Linked DNA regions of Homo sapiens: all the other regions are linked to region 1. Evidence: promoter capture Hi-C in 16 types of primary human blood cells and fetal thymus (Javierre and others, 2016). All regions are on one chromosome and are shown on one strand. Each heading gives the region's core, a stretch centred on a gene start or on the middle of the fragment in contact. The rest is flanking DNA. Distances are from core to core; before and after follow the strand shown. Region 1 holds the start of EBPL (EBP like). Region 2 overlaps RNASEH2B (ribonuclease H2 subunit B). Region 3 overlaps RNASEH2B (ribonuclease H2 subunit B).

Evidence for each region. Contacts are between HindIII fragments. The CHiCAGO score rates a contact against its expected background, and 5 or more counts as called.
Region 2: a fragment that was not itself captured here is called in contact with the fragment with the promoter of EBPL in region 1 in 1 of 17 cell types (total B cells); the score reaches 6.6 in total B cells.
Region 3: a fragment that was not itself captured here is called in contact with the fragment with the promoter of EBPL in region 1 in 6 of 17 cell types (naive CD8 T cells, naive B cells, naive CD4 T cells and 3 more); the score reaches 8.0 in naive CD8 T cells.

Annotation. Positions count from the first base shown.
Region 1 is chr13:49,689,561-49,693,902 of GRCh38, forward strand. EBPL (EBP like) reads right to left here and starts at 1,926. Exons shown (of 4, transcript NM_032565.5): 1 at 1,694-1,926. The coding sequence starts at 1,864. RefSeq lists an enhancer at 1,221-2,218 and silencers at 1,682-1,821, 1,852-2,051. The HindIII fragment of the contact is 12,052 bases long and covers 1-4,342 here.
Region 2 is chr13:50,937,987-50,942,328 of GRCh38, forward strand. The region is part of intron 5 of RNASEH2B (ribonuclease H2 subunit B); the gene reads left to right. Among named protein-coding and RNA genes, the nearest start is that of RNASEH2B-AS1, 29 kb to the left of the region's middle. The HindIII fragment of the contact is 6,799 bases long and covers 1-4,342 here.
Region 3 is chr13:50,912,820-50,917,161 of GRCh38, forward strand. The region is part of intron 1 of RNASEH2B (ribonuclease H2 subunit B); the gene reads left to right. Among named protein-coding and RNA genes, the nearest start is that of RNASEH2B-AS1, 4.3 kb to the left of the region's middle. RefSeq lists an enhancer at 2,084-2,173. The HindIII fragment of the contact is 765 bases long and covers 1,519-2,283 here.

The DNA of each region.
Region 1 (4,342 bases), core at 676-3,175:
CTGGTCTTGAACTCCTGACCTCGTGATCCACCCGCCTCAGCCTCCCAAAATGCTGGGATTACAGGCATGAGCCACTGTGTCCGATATGTTATACATTTTTATATATATACATTCTGATATGCTATATACAGTTATACCCAGCCAATATGTTACACAGTTTTCTCTCACTGGGCCTAGCAACATTTTTGTTATGTTATACATTTTGTTATACATTTTTTCTAACCGGGCCTAGCAATCTGCTTTATCTCCCTTGTTCTGTGGGAAACCTTGTGTTCAAGTGATAGCTTAAAAATCAATTCTCGGCTGGTGGCGGTGGCGGTGGCTCACGCCTGTCATCCCAGCACTTTGGGAGGCCAAGGTGGGCAGATCATCTGATGTTAGGGGTTTGAGACCAGTCTGGCCAACATAGTGAAACCTCATCTCTACTAAAAACACAAAAATTAGCTGGGCGTGGTGACGGGCGCCCGTAATCCCAGCTACTCGGGAGGCTGAGGCAGGAGAATAGCTTTAACCCAAGGGGCGGAGGTTGCAGTGAGCCGAGATAGTGCCACTACACTCCAGCCTGGGCAACAGTGTTAGACTCTGTCTCAAGAACAACAACAAAAAAAAAGACAAAAAAAAAAAAAAAGAATTCTATAAATAAAGGAGTTGAGAGAAACATTCACTGTCCCTTATCTCTACATGTTGATTATCAGAATAAAAAGAATTCCAGCAACATCAGTCATGGGCACAAAGCCAACCCGTAAACATTTACAGAACTCGATGATTACCCAAAACTCGGCTTGCTTTCTCAATACTACTGACTTTGGCTTCACATTAGCCACAGGTGTGTCTAGAGTTAAACAAGGTCAACTTTACAAAAAAAAAAAAAAACAAACTGATACTTGGGCATAGTTTAAAAAAAACTTAAAAGTGTGTGTGTGTGTGTGCGTGCGCGTGTGTGGTGGGGGGCGGGGCATTTCAATATAAATGCCTTAAACACAACCTTCCTGGCTATTTTATAAAATGGGTTGAATCTCTAAGGACACATATTTCCTAAGACCTCGACTGATACACAGAGTGCAAACTTGGGAGCCAGACTAGACTGCCTCAGAATCATGCCAGCTGTGTGGCACTGGAAAGTCACCTAATTTTGCAGCGCCTACCTTCACCTCTGTAAAATGGGGAACAATAATAACTAATTTATGGATGCTGTAAAGATCTGAAATTTTAAACTCAGTAATGCGCCTGGCACACATTAGACACGGGTGTTTCGTTTGTCTTGGCAAAGGCTTCGGGTTTTGCGACAATAGCCTTGCTGCCTCCGGAGCAAGCATCTCTCCTTGCCCCCTCTGGGGCATTTAAAAATGACCTCAATTCTACTCTCAATTATGTCCAGTTCAACAGTTACGTGCAGGTTACAAAGCCGAGGAAGCTGAGGTATCTTCTAAACTAACATAGCACGTACAGAATTTTTTTAAAGTTTGGTGGAGGAATCGGCAGCACAAGGTAAGCTGCGCTCTGTTCACAGACCTGGGAATCAGAACTCCGGCCGCCGCGGCCTCCAGGCGCCTCTCAGCTAACAGACTTCCTGCAGCAGGGGGAGGGGCGGCCAGCTCGCTGCAAAAAGCCGCAGGACCCCCTCACCCCGCCTTGCCGCCCCCGCTCCCACTCTCTGGGATGGGGAGTGCAGGGTCTAGGCGATGGCACTTACCAGCGCGAAGTGCACCAGCGCGTCGTAGCAGAGCCAGATGAGCGCCCCGCGGTCCGCCGCCCCCTGCCCGCGGCCCAGGCGCAGGCCCAGGGCGCAGCCCGCCGCCAGCAGCGCGGCGCACAGCAGCAGCGAACCGCCAGCCTCGGCCCCCAGCTCCCACTCAGCGCCCATGCTTCAGGCTTCCGACGCCAACGGCCCAGGACCATGCGGCAGAGGAAAGCAGGGAGAGAAACGACGGGGCGGGGCTGGCCGGGAAGGGGCGGAGCCGGATGGCCAAGGAGGAGCGGAGCTGATTGGCCAAGGCGGTCCGGGGAGGGACGGGGCTCCCCGGCCGGGTCGGGGCCAGAGCGAGGATTCCGTGCCCGCCTCGCACCCTGGCCAGCCTGCTGAGTCCGGTGGTTTTGCCAGGTGCCGCCCATGGAGGTTCCGTAGAAGGAACGTGCTCACCAACTTGCGCAACCGCCTCGACCAAACCTGTTCCCAAACCGAGCCCAAAGGATTGGTAATAGGGCCACACCTTTTGATGTTGTTTCGCTTTTAACAAGGCTCAAACTTTAAGCCACAAAGTGAAGCCTAGGTAGTGGAAATTTTGCCAGTAGACCGGGGCAGAATTTTAGGGGCAAAAGGTTTTAATTAGGCTGCAGCAAGCCTTACCAGGGAGGCTGGGGGCCAAGGGAGTTTTCAGCCACCAGCCGGCTTAAAGCCTTTATGGCCTACTCTGACAATCTTTCCATTTCTTAAAAATCCAGAAAAGTAGAAGGGTGGGTGAGAGGAGCGGTAAGTCCTATTGGCTTGGCGATAGATGCGTTTAACCTGTGGCAGGCCAGGTTTCACTATCGCAGGCCTCCATCACAACTGCTTCAGCACTGAGTGGTTAAATTAAATATTAAAAGCTGAGGCCGGGCGCGGTGGCTCACGCCTGTAATCCCAGCACTTTTTGCCAAGGCGGGCGGATCACGAGGTCAGGAAATCGAGACCATCCTGGCTAACACGGCGAAACCACGTCTCTACTAAAAATACAAAAAATTAGCCGGGCGTGGTGACGGGCGCCTGTAGTCCCAGCTACTCCGGAGGCTGAGGCAGGAGAATGGCGTGAACCCGGGAGGCGGAGCTTGCAGTGAGCCGAGATCGCGCCACTGCACTCCAGCCTGGGCAACAGAGCGAGACTCCGTCTCAAAAAACAAAAAAAAAATTAAAAGCTGAAAGAGTCAGTGCCCATATACCAAAGTCTGGAATGTAACAAAAGCCCACCAAGAGTTTTGCCTAGGCCTTTCTTGGGCCTTGAAGCATGACAAGATAACTAAGGAATTTTTAACAGGACCCGTTTAGGATTAAACAAGTTTTATTGGGGGTCTGAAGAAACTCCCCAGGCCTCCAAAAACAAGTTTATTGGGAGTCTGGAGGAATTCCACAAGCCTCCATGATTTAGCAAGAGACAAAATAAGGGTAATCATCCCAGCACCCAGACCTATTTAGATTAAGTAAATTTACTGAGGCTCCAGAGGAAGGTCTTCAGGATTAGAAGTTGTTAATCACTTACGTCTTTAGATGAATGCACTCTTACACGTAGACATATAGCTTAGAAGGTATATACGCTCTGGAAAAACTTTGTAATTATGAGTTGGTCTGGCAATAATTTCCAGACCTTCTCCCTGTAACCGGTTGCAGAAATAAAAACTCTTCTTCCCCAGTTCATCTGCACCTCATTATTGGGCTGCCCAACCCCCAGTTTGGTCCGGGAACAAACCTACATTATTTAACATCACAACAACCCTATGAGGTCGGTGAAATAAGCCAGTCACAAAAACATACTTATGATTCCACTTACAGGAAATATCTAAAATAATCAATTTGCAGAAACAAAATAGAATGATGGTTACCAGGGGTGGGGCGGGGCGGGAGTGGGGGGGGGGCGCGGGGAAAAGTGGAGTGTTATTTATTCGGATAGTTTGATTTGCAAGATGATGTTCTGGAGATTGGTTGCACAACAACGTGAACATACTTTACTGAGCTGCACACTTAAAAATGGTTAAGATGGCAAATTTTATGTGTATTTTACAGTTATTAAAAAAAATGCTGGCACTGAACACAAGAAATTTTTCCCTTAGTCACTTCCTATACCATTTTTTATAGCAGTTAACACCAGATAGAATGATCCTTGTTTACACACTTATTGCTAATCTCCTGCCACTATAATGTAAGTCTTCAAGGCCAGGGGTTGTGGCTAGCTTTTTTATTGCTGTATCCCTGGCACCTATTACAGAGTTTGGCATATATTAGCTGCTCAGTTAAATAACTGGCGACTGAGTATGGTCAATCTAGCCACCTATGCTCTGGATCCTGTCCTGTAACTAACTTATCATCCTTTAGGGACCACTCGGCCCACCTCCCCTTCAGAGCAAAATAGAAACTTAATGAAAAAACTGATCAGATCCCCTGTCTTCATGTCTTGACCCTGCTCCTCAGTCCTTTCTACTCTGGTTTCTGCCTTATCACACTGATATAGCTCTCACTAAGGTGACTACTGGCCTCCACATCACTGAACCCCAAGAACAGTTCATTTTCTTAGTGTAGTTTACTTCTCAGCAGCATCCCAGCACTGAAATATTTTTCCTTTGGTTTTCTGAGAATACAGCCTCCTTAGCCATT
Region 2 (4,342 bases), core at 566-3,065, 1.2 Mb after region 1:
GTACAACTGTCTTTATTCATAGACAATATTGTCATGTATGAAAAAATCCAAAAGAATCTACAAAAGAAGTTACTAGAATTGATAAGCAAAGTTTCAGGATACAAGTTCAATATACAAATATTAGTTGTGTTTCTATATACTGACATTGAACAATTGGATAATGGAATAAAAACATACCATTTATACTACCATTAAAAATAACATTCTAGTGCTAAATGTAACACAATATGTTCAAGACCAATATGCTGAACATTACAAAATATTGCTGAGAGAAATTAAAGAAAAATTAAATAAATGGAGAAATAGGCCATGTTTGTGGATTGGAAGACTCAATATTTTTAAGGTATCTATTTTCCCCAAATTACACTATAATTACACTATATAATTACATTATAGATTCAGTGTAATACTTAGCCAGCTCCATTTTTTTTTCTTTTTTTTTGGTAGGTATTGATAAACTGATTCTAGAATTTATATGACTATGTAAAGCAGCAGAAGCAGCAGTCTCCAACCTAATTTTGGCAGCAGGAACTGGTTTTGAGGAAGACAATTTTTCCATGGATGGGGCAGGGAGGGGGATGGCTTTGGGGTGAAACTGTTCCACCTCAGATCATCAGGCATTCGATTCTCATAAGGAGCACACAACCTAGATCCCTCGCATGTGCAGTTGACAATAGGGTTCGCACTCCTATGAGAATCTAATGCCATCACTGTTCTGACAGGAGGCAGAGCTCAGCCAGTAATGCTCACTTGCCTGACACTCATTCCTGCTGTGTGGCCCAGTTCCTCACAGGCCATGGATTGGTACCAGTACATGGCTTAGGGACTGGGGAGCCCTGATGTAAAGGACCTATAATATTCAAAACAATTTTGAAAAAGAAGAATTTGGAGAACTTACACAAACTGAATTAAAGACTTACTATAATCAAGAAAATGTGGAGATCAGGCACAATGACTCATGCCTGTAATCCTAGCGGTTTGGGAGGCCGAAGCAGGAGGATTGCTTGAGGCTGAGAGTTCGAGAACAGCCTGAGCAAAGTAGCAAAACCCCATTTCTACAGAAAGTTTAAAAATTAGGCAGCTGTGGGCCAGGCACGGTGGCTCACGCCTGTAATCCCAGCACTTTGGGAGGCCAGCGCAGGTGGATCATGACGTCAGGAGATCGAAACCATCCTGGCTAACACGGTGAAACCCTGTCTCTACTAAAAAATACAAAGAACATTAGCCAGGTGTGGTGGTGGGCACCTGTAGTCCCAGCTACTCGGGAGGCTGAAGCAGGAGAATGGCATGAACCCAGGAGGCAGAGCTTGCAGTGAGCCAAGATCGCGCCACTGCCCTCCAGCCTGGGTGACAGAGCGAGACTCTGTTTCAAAAGAAAAAAAAATTAGCCAGCTGTGGTGGTATGTGCCTATAGTTCCAACTATTTGGGAGGCTGAGGAGGAAAGATCACTTGAGCCCAGGAGGTCGGGGTTACAGTGAACTGTGATCACACAATTGCACTCCAATTTGGGTAACAGAGTGAGACCCTGTCCCTAAATTTAAAAAATAAATAAAAATAAAATAAATTTGGTGTTGGTATAAGGATAAATATATAGATAAATGGAATAGAATAGAGAATCTAGAAATAAACCCACACTTATATGGTCAATTGATTTTTTTTTTCCAAAAGTGTGAAGATAATTCAGTGGGAAAAAGGATAGTCTTTACAACAAATGTTGATGGAAGAATTTGGTATACATATGAAAAATAACGTTGATTCTTACCTCATACAGAAAAATTAATTCAAAATGGATCACTATGTTAAATTCAAAAATGAAAATTATTGAGCTTCTAGAAGAAAGCATAGGATAAAATCCTTGTTGTCTTGGGAGGCAAAGATTTCTTAGGACACAAAACCCACTAACTGTAAAAAAATTATAAATTGTATTTTATCAAAAGTATTCTCTTTTGTTTTTGAAAAATGCCATTAAGAAAAAAGGAGATTGTGAGTTGTGGGACAGTTGGAACTTACCTACCTGGCTGTCCACGGCTTAAAATGATATAGCCACTTGACAATTTCTTACAACTCAGGAATTCTACTACTCCCTGGTACAAAGTAAGGAACTACTGCTAGCTGCAACAAAATGGATGAATCTCACAGAAATAATGTTGAGCAAAAGAAATTGGACACAAAAAGTATATACTATATCATTTCATTTCTATGGTGTTCCAGAATAAAGCAAGAATTGCCCTATAATGATGGATGAGTGGTGACCTGTGATCTGGGTAGCCATGGGAGAATTGACTACATAAGGGTTCCAGGGAACTTTGGGGGATGATGCTTACATGACTGCATACATTTTTCCAAACTCCTCGATTTGTACATTTAAAATGGGTGTGTCCATTGTGTGAACATGAACATTGCGTGAACACCTAAATAAAATTCATTTTTAAAACAATATTTACTGATCCAGCACTAGAAGCTAAGCCTCCTGATTTCTAACACAGTATTTATTTTTACTTGCCCCTTTCCCCCAAAATAATATTGGCTCCTTTTCTCTCTATACTTCCTACCTCCCATGGGATGGAGAGATGGAATGTGGGAGGCAAGGCCAGTGTGAGCACTGGCTCTGAGGTTTAGGCCTCGATATTCAGGAGAGTGGTGTAGGAGGAAGATGAACCACTGGGTTTTAGACACATGGAGGCTTAGTTCAGGGCTTTGGGCCTCCCGGTTAGTTTGTTTAGTCTTGTTGATCTAGGAGGAGATCACACCAGATGAAAGGATACAGTTGACTTTGGAGGAGGGTGAAGCAGAGCTGGGAAAAGAATCAGATAAGTCATTAGAGACATAAAAAAATAGAAAGCAATTTTATATATGCCATGGAGGAGAGGTTGTTAGGAGGTACTGAGGAAAGTGCAGACCTAGTGATCTTGGTAAAGTGAACATCAGATCCACAGCTTTGATGTCAGCATGGTTGGGAGTTGGGTGCTCTTGCCTACTTCCTCAGTGACTTAGGAGAGTTTACTTCATGTCACTCAGAGCCAGTCTTCGAAGATGGGGACAAATCATGGTTTATTAATTGATTCTGAGATTCATTCTGATCATTCAATAAGAAAATGTATAAAATGTGCCTAGCACAGACCTGAATAAACATTAGTTTCTTATGTTTTATTAACAAATCATATTTTTCATCACAATATCTTAGCTAATATTATGTATTTGCTAAGTGGCAGGTGTTGTGCTCTAGGATTTGTATGGATTATCACATTTCATGCTCAGAATAGCCCAGTGAGAAAAAAACCTCTCTTTACACATGGGGGAACAGGCTTTGAGCACGAGGCGGCTTCCCAAGGAGACAGCATGTGCTGGGGTATGCATGAGCCCTGGTAGCATGGCTCAGTCTGTGCTCTCTGCCCCTTCTTAGAGAATAATTCCCAGAGGTAGAGGAGAAGCCTCCTAGTGGGGCTCAGGGAGTGGGAGACAGGAAGGAAAACAGCAGCAGATGGTAGACATTCTTTGAGAAAATTTGGAGGTAGAGGCAAGAAAGAAGTGAGATGCCAGATCAGGGTAGGATTTTCAGGAGAACCTTGAGCAGTGAGCTTCTTTTGGAGTTTTTTTTTCCTCAGGCAATGAACATAACTTCTAAAAGCCATTCAGCGTCATATATTTATTTAGTGATTGCTGTATGCTCTTAAAATTCCCCTGGTTTGTACATCGGTTGGGACATGGGCTCCAGGGAAATTGAGTCCGGTCTCATTGGCTTTGGCTTACAGTAGGCTGTTTGCCCAGGTAGTCCTGGCTCCAAAACAGCAGACATTGCACCTTGGAATTCTGACACTCCTGACAATGCTTTTGCACCTGTCCCTCTTTTTTGTTACTGTAGTGACATGTCCTGAGAAGATGGCTGCAGATGTCCAGCCCCCAATCCATCCTGCCTCATCTTGCCTGCAGCATTGACAACCATAGGCTGAAACAGAGAGGAAATTCACAGGAACTAAGGCCAGGGACCTCCCAACCTCTCTCCCATACAGTTTAACAGACTGCAGAAAATGAACCCTGAATGGGCAGTTTTCATTTCCCATCAAAAGGTGGGAGGGAGAAAGAGCCTCATTCTATATAACTCAGAGGTGGTAAATTCACATCAGGCCCAAGGGTTGCTAGTGGTCATAAAGATAAATCCTGCATGGACAGAGGAGGCTGGAATAGAAGTGCTGCCCTTGCTAATTGCACAGACAGAAGAAATCCCATGAATGAAAAGGGTTGCAGAGGAAATCATGGTTTAATGTCATGGTATATAAGGCTGGGTGGATTGTGGGGAAGTTAAGTGTAATTTATAAGAGGTGAAACTTTTATCTCCATAAA
Region 3 (4,342 bases), core at 651-3,150, 1.2 Mb after region 1:
GCCAACAGAACTTTAAAGGGATTTATCCGTGAGACAAGGGTAAAGATGCCTAACCTTGCAATGATACTTTTTTCCAACATTTAATTCATGCTGTTCATCGAGTTGCCTGCCACAGCACTGTGTTATATCTTGAAGGATATATTTAAATGTTTGATTTAGGTATCTTTGCCTCTAGTTTTCAGTTTGTTTGGAGAAGCTGGCTATCTCAGATAAACAAATCTGGAACTTGGAAGAGATACTGTGAGATATGCAGACTTGGGACGTTGGTTTTCATAGGCTGGTGAAGACAGAACCATTTCCCATTTCAGCAAGGCAAGCATTTCTTTTAGTTTGGGATGGTCTTAAATGTTTCTGTAAAATGGCCTGGGAATACTAGCCTGTTTGCAGTTTTAATTTCTATAAGAGGCCATTACTTTACTTTTTGGAAAGTAGTATAAGTTTCCATCCCTCTTTTTCTGCCCTAAAAGTAAATGTTTGAGTCATATTTTTAATGTTTTTCTTAAGTCCATTTTTCTTGTTAATGCTACTAAGTTGGGATGTACCCAGGTGTGAGAGGTCACCTGATTCATTGCGTTTAGAAGACTGCATTTATTGCTGTTGGGGGCTGAACAATTAATTGGGTTCATCTCCAAGGAAATGTTAATTGGGAAACCCTAACATTGTGTATTGAAAAAAAAAAAAAGAAGAAAAATCATTTCAGGCCTGTTAAAACAAAACTCATTTGGGTTCACTTAGGCTGATTAAAATATTCCTTAATCAGCCCCCTGATTAAACAGTCCTGAGGTGAAACTGCACCTCAACTCGAATTTTCAGTTAGAGACAAGTTTTGCAATAAAGTTATCCCCCTTTATTTCATGAATATACATGTTAAAAAGTATTTTAGGAAAGATTGCACTTATTATTTATTTCTCCACAGAAAGCAGTTTCATGGAGGTAGAGGATGGGTTGCTTTTTGGGAGATAAGAATCCCTGTCTACCTTAGACATTTCAAATACAATAACAGCTTTTTATGTGAGGCATCGTGATAATCACAAATGATTATACCAGAGCTATCTTTCCAATTGGAATGCAAAAATAGATGTGGAAGGATTGTATAAATTCATGCATTAGAACTATGTTCTAATTAAAGGATTTAAAAAATAAATTTAAAAGGAAAAACTAATTTTCTTATTTAATGATGGAGAAAATTTATATTAATGTTATTTCTGATTACAGTCTTGAAGATTTTTTTTTTTTTTTTTTGGTCCACCAACTGGCATAATTGTAGCTTTTTATAAGTCCAAAGAAATGCCTCTTGTTTTGGGGGAGGAAAAAAAGTAAAGGTTTAAAGTGTATGGCAAAGGAAGAACTACTATAGATTTAACTGACTTTTCAGTGACACTAAAAAACACTCTTTTCCCTTCTTTACCTAATGGCTCATGGTTAATCTCAGAAGAAAAAGTTAAGCAGGATTTTTGTTCTTTGTCAAAACGGTATGTATGTATATGTTTGTGTTTAGAAATATACGTGAGGGCCGAAAGCTTCCTTATTTTCAGAAGAGATGAACTTCACTTGGCACATGATAGAGAACCTGGCCAATTCAAGTGCTGATTTTAGACAACCTCGGAATAATTAAGCTCAGCTTTTTGGAAGATGTGTCATTTACCGAATAGTCTACTGCAGGCAGTCAGCAGTGTAGGAGTCTCAGAGTTTTCCAGCATAGAGCGTGTTTAACATTTTCCACATGAATCTCAGTCTGGCTTTGTTTTTGCAAAATGTTTTTCGGTGGGACCCGACTGACCTTTCTCAGATGGCCACTGGATCTGCTCCCCTTGCTATCTATCTGAGCACGTTCTGAAGTGGATGGACTTCAGTTGCCAGTTGGTGTAATCAGGCTGTTTCCAGAGTCTGATCTTGTCCCTTTAGTAACTGTTCCAAAATACTTGGGACATTTATAAGTAAGAACTCATGACTCCCACATATTTATCCTCCAGGTCAGAAAAAAATTCATAAAAGGAAAGCAAGCAGTGTTCATGATTTTTTATTTGAGTAACAGAATAGGGACTGCATGGATTCTCCCACATCCTCTGAGACTGTGATTTTAAAAAACAAACAACTCAGTCAGTGTGCTCCAAAGCCTGGCTATAATAACACAGACTTAAAAGCTAGATTTATGCTATTTATTAGCTCTGTGTCATTGGGTGGTTTACTTCCTCACTATAAAGCCTCACTTTTGTCATCTCCACAGTGGGGAGAAGAGTACCAGTCTCATGGGGTTGTTATCTGTGGTTTGAGTTACTCATAAGCTTTCTTACACCTCAAGCTTTTAGCCCTGGGCCTGGGACAGAGTAGATATTTCAATAAATATTTACTGAACGAATAAAAGTCTCACATTCCATTTCTTCCTGCAATGTCTTTGCTTATTCTGCTTTTTCCTCCCCTTCTACTTCTATCCAAATTCTACCCTTTCCTCAAGGTTCCATTCAACTTTATTTTCCACAAAGCTAAGCCATTTGCTCCAGCTCAGCTTCTCCGTCTTGACTTTGTGTCTGCCTGGAATCCTGCCTGCTCTTCACTTTATCTACCTGGCAAATTCCTACTTATCCTTTAAACCCAGCTCAAGTATCACCTCTACCAGGAAGCCTTCCCATGGGTCTCTCCTCTTGTTACTGCCCAGGTTCGTGGTACCTCTTTGACCACCTACACATTTCATCATGATTATTCATTTAAGTGCCATTTTTATATAAATATGTATTGAACACCTAATACATGCCAGGAGCTAGAGAGAGTCCAAGTGTGTTTTCCCTGAGTGGCCATTTCGCTTCTCAGTGTGGGCACCTCAGCCTTCTGCTTCAGAGCACAACCTCCAAACAGTAGAGCATGTCACGTAGGATTTCCAGGCCTTTATTCAGAGCTACCTTTATGACTTCCTTGTCTAAGGATGACTGTTTGCTAAAGCAGAATGGGCCACCCCGTGGCAAGGGGATGTAAGGGATTTGGGGCTGCATGTTCTAGTCCCTGTTTCATTATCTGTCCCCGAAACAGCTAAGCTGGAGGCTGGCTTACTCCTCCGAGGGCCTAGGTCTCAACATTTGGTAAGGCTCTCCTGCATGATTGGCTACCTTTGCCTGATTGTTTTTAAAGATTTTTTGTTATTGTTGTTGCCTTTTAACCTTCTTTTGACCAGTTAACTCTACATTTACACGTTTTTCTCACAGTGGTTTTTTTTTTTGATAACTTTAAATAATTAGAATAATAATATTTACCCAGTATAGAAATTCTAGTAATATGGGGAAAAAAATAAAGAATAAAATAATTTGTCCATCATCCTCACCCAAAATAAAAATTTTGGAGATATTTCTTTCCAGTTTTTTCATGTTGTTTACATTACAAAATGAATTCCAATCTTCTTAAATTTTTTTTTCTTATTTTTCTATTTTTGCCTTTATTTCATTGTTTACCCTTACTACTTATTTAATGTAACACTAAAACACTCAGGGAGATTGGGGTTACATAAAAGTTTATATGGTGCTGTTCTACATAAAATTGGAGAAAGTTCAGTTGATTTAATAGAGGTAGGGGCTGTTTTTTTCCTCTTAATTTTGATAAGGACAGAAACTCACACAGTGATATGAAACAAGTTGACAAAGAGAATTTGTATTTTAGGCTTTGAACATTGAAGAGGTGTAATACTTATTGCTTCAGACAGTAGACAGTACATATTTGGAATGGGTTATCTTTGAAAGTGGATAAAGATTGAAAATACAAATAGGTGCAAAAGAGGTAAAGATACATTTACAGAGCTGTATTGGACCCAATGGCAAACTAGGATGTTTCAAAAGCCATTCAAAGCAGGTTACATTTTTGAGGACAACCATAGCCTCCTGCAAACATCCCTTGGTGTGCTTTCCTGAAACCGGATACTGGTTTGAATAGCCTGTGAGTCTGCCTTAGTATGGAAATTGCCATTTTTTAATGTGGGGTCAGTGCACCTGGGTTGTGTGTTACAAAATCAAACATGAACTTCTTTGGGAGTTCCTTAGCAGGTTCACATCCTCCCAGGAAGGAGCAGGGGTGGTGGAGAGCATAGGACATCTGGCCCTAGGGTGTTGCAGCAGCAGGAGTCCAGGGTTTCTGCCTCTCTGAGTGTTAACTTCCTCTTCTCAAACTAACTTCCTGCATTTAGTGAAAAACTGGTTTCACGTGATTCCCAAGCTGCAGATCCCCCCAGTGTCTGCTGGGAGGGGTCTCTCCTCTTAGTTCCAGTTTGAAACCTTTCAAAACAGCCTTCTGACTGGTCCTGCTGTGGTCACATGCAGTCCCACCCTCCACCACCTATTGTAGCCAGGGAGGGGCAGGCTGT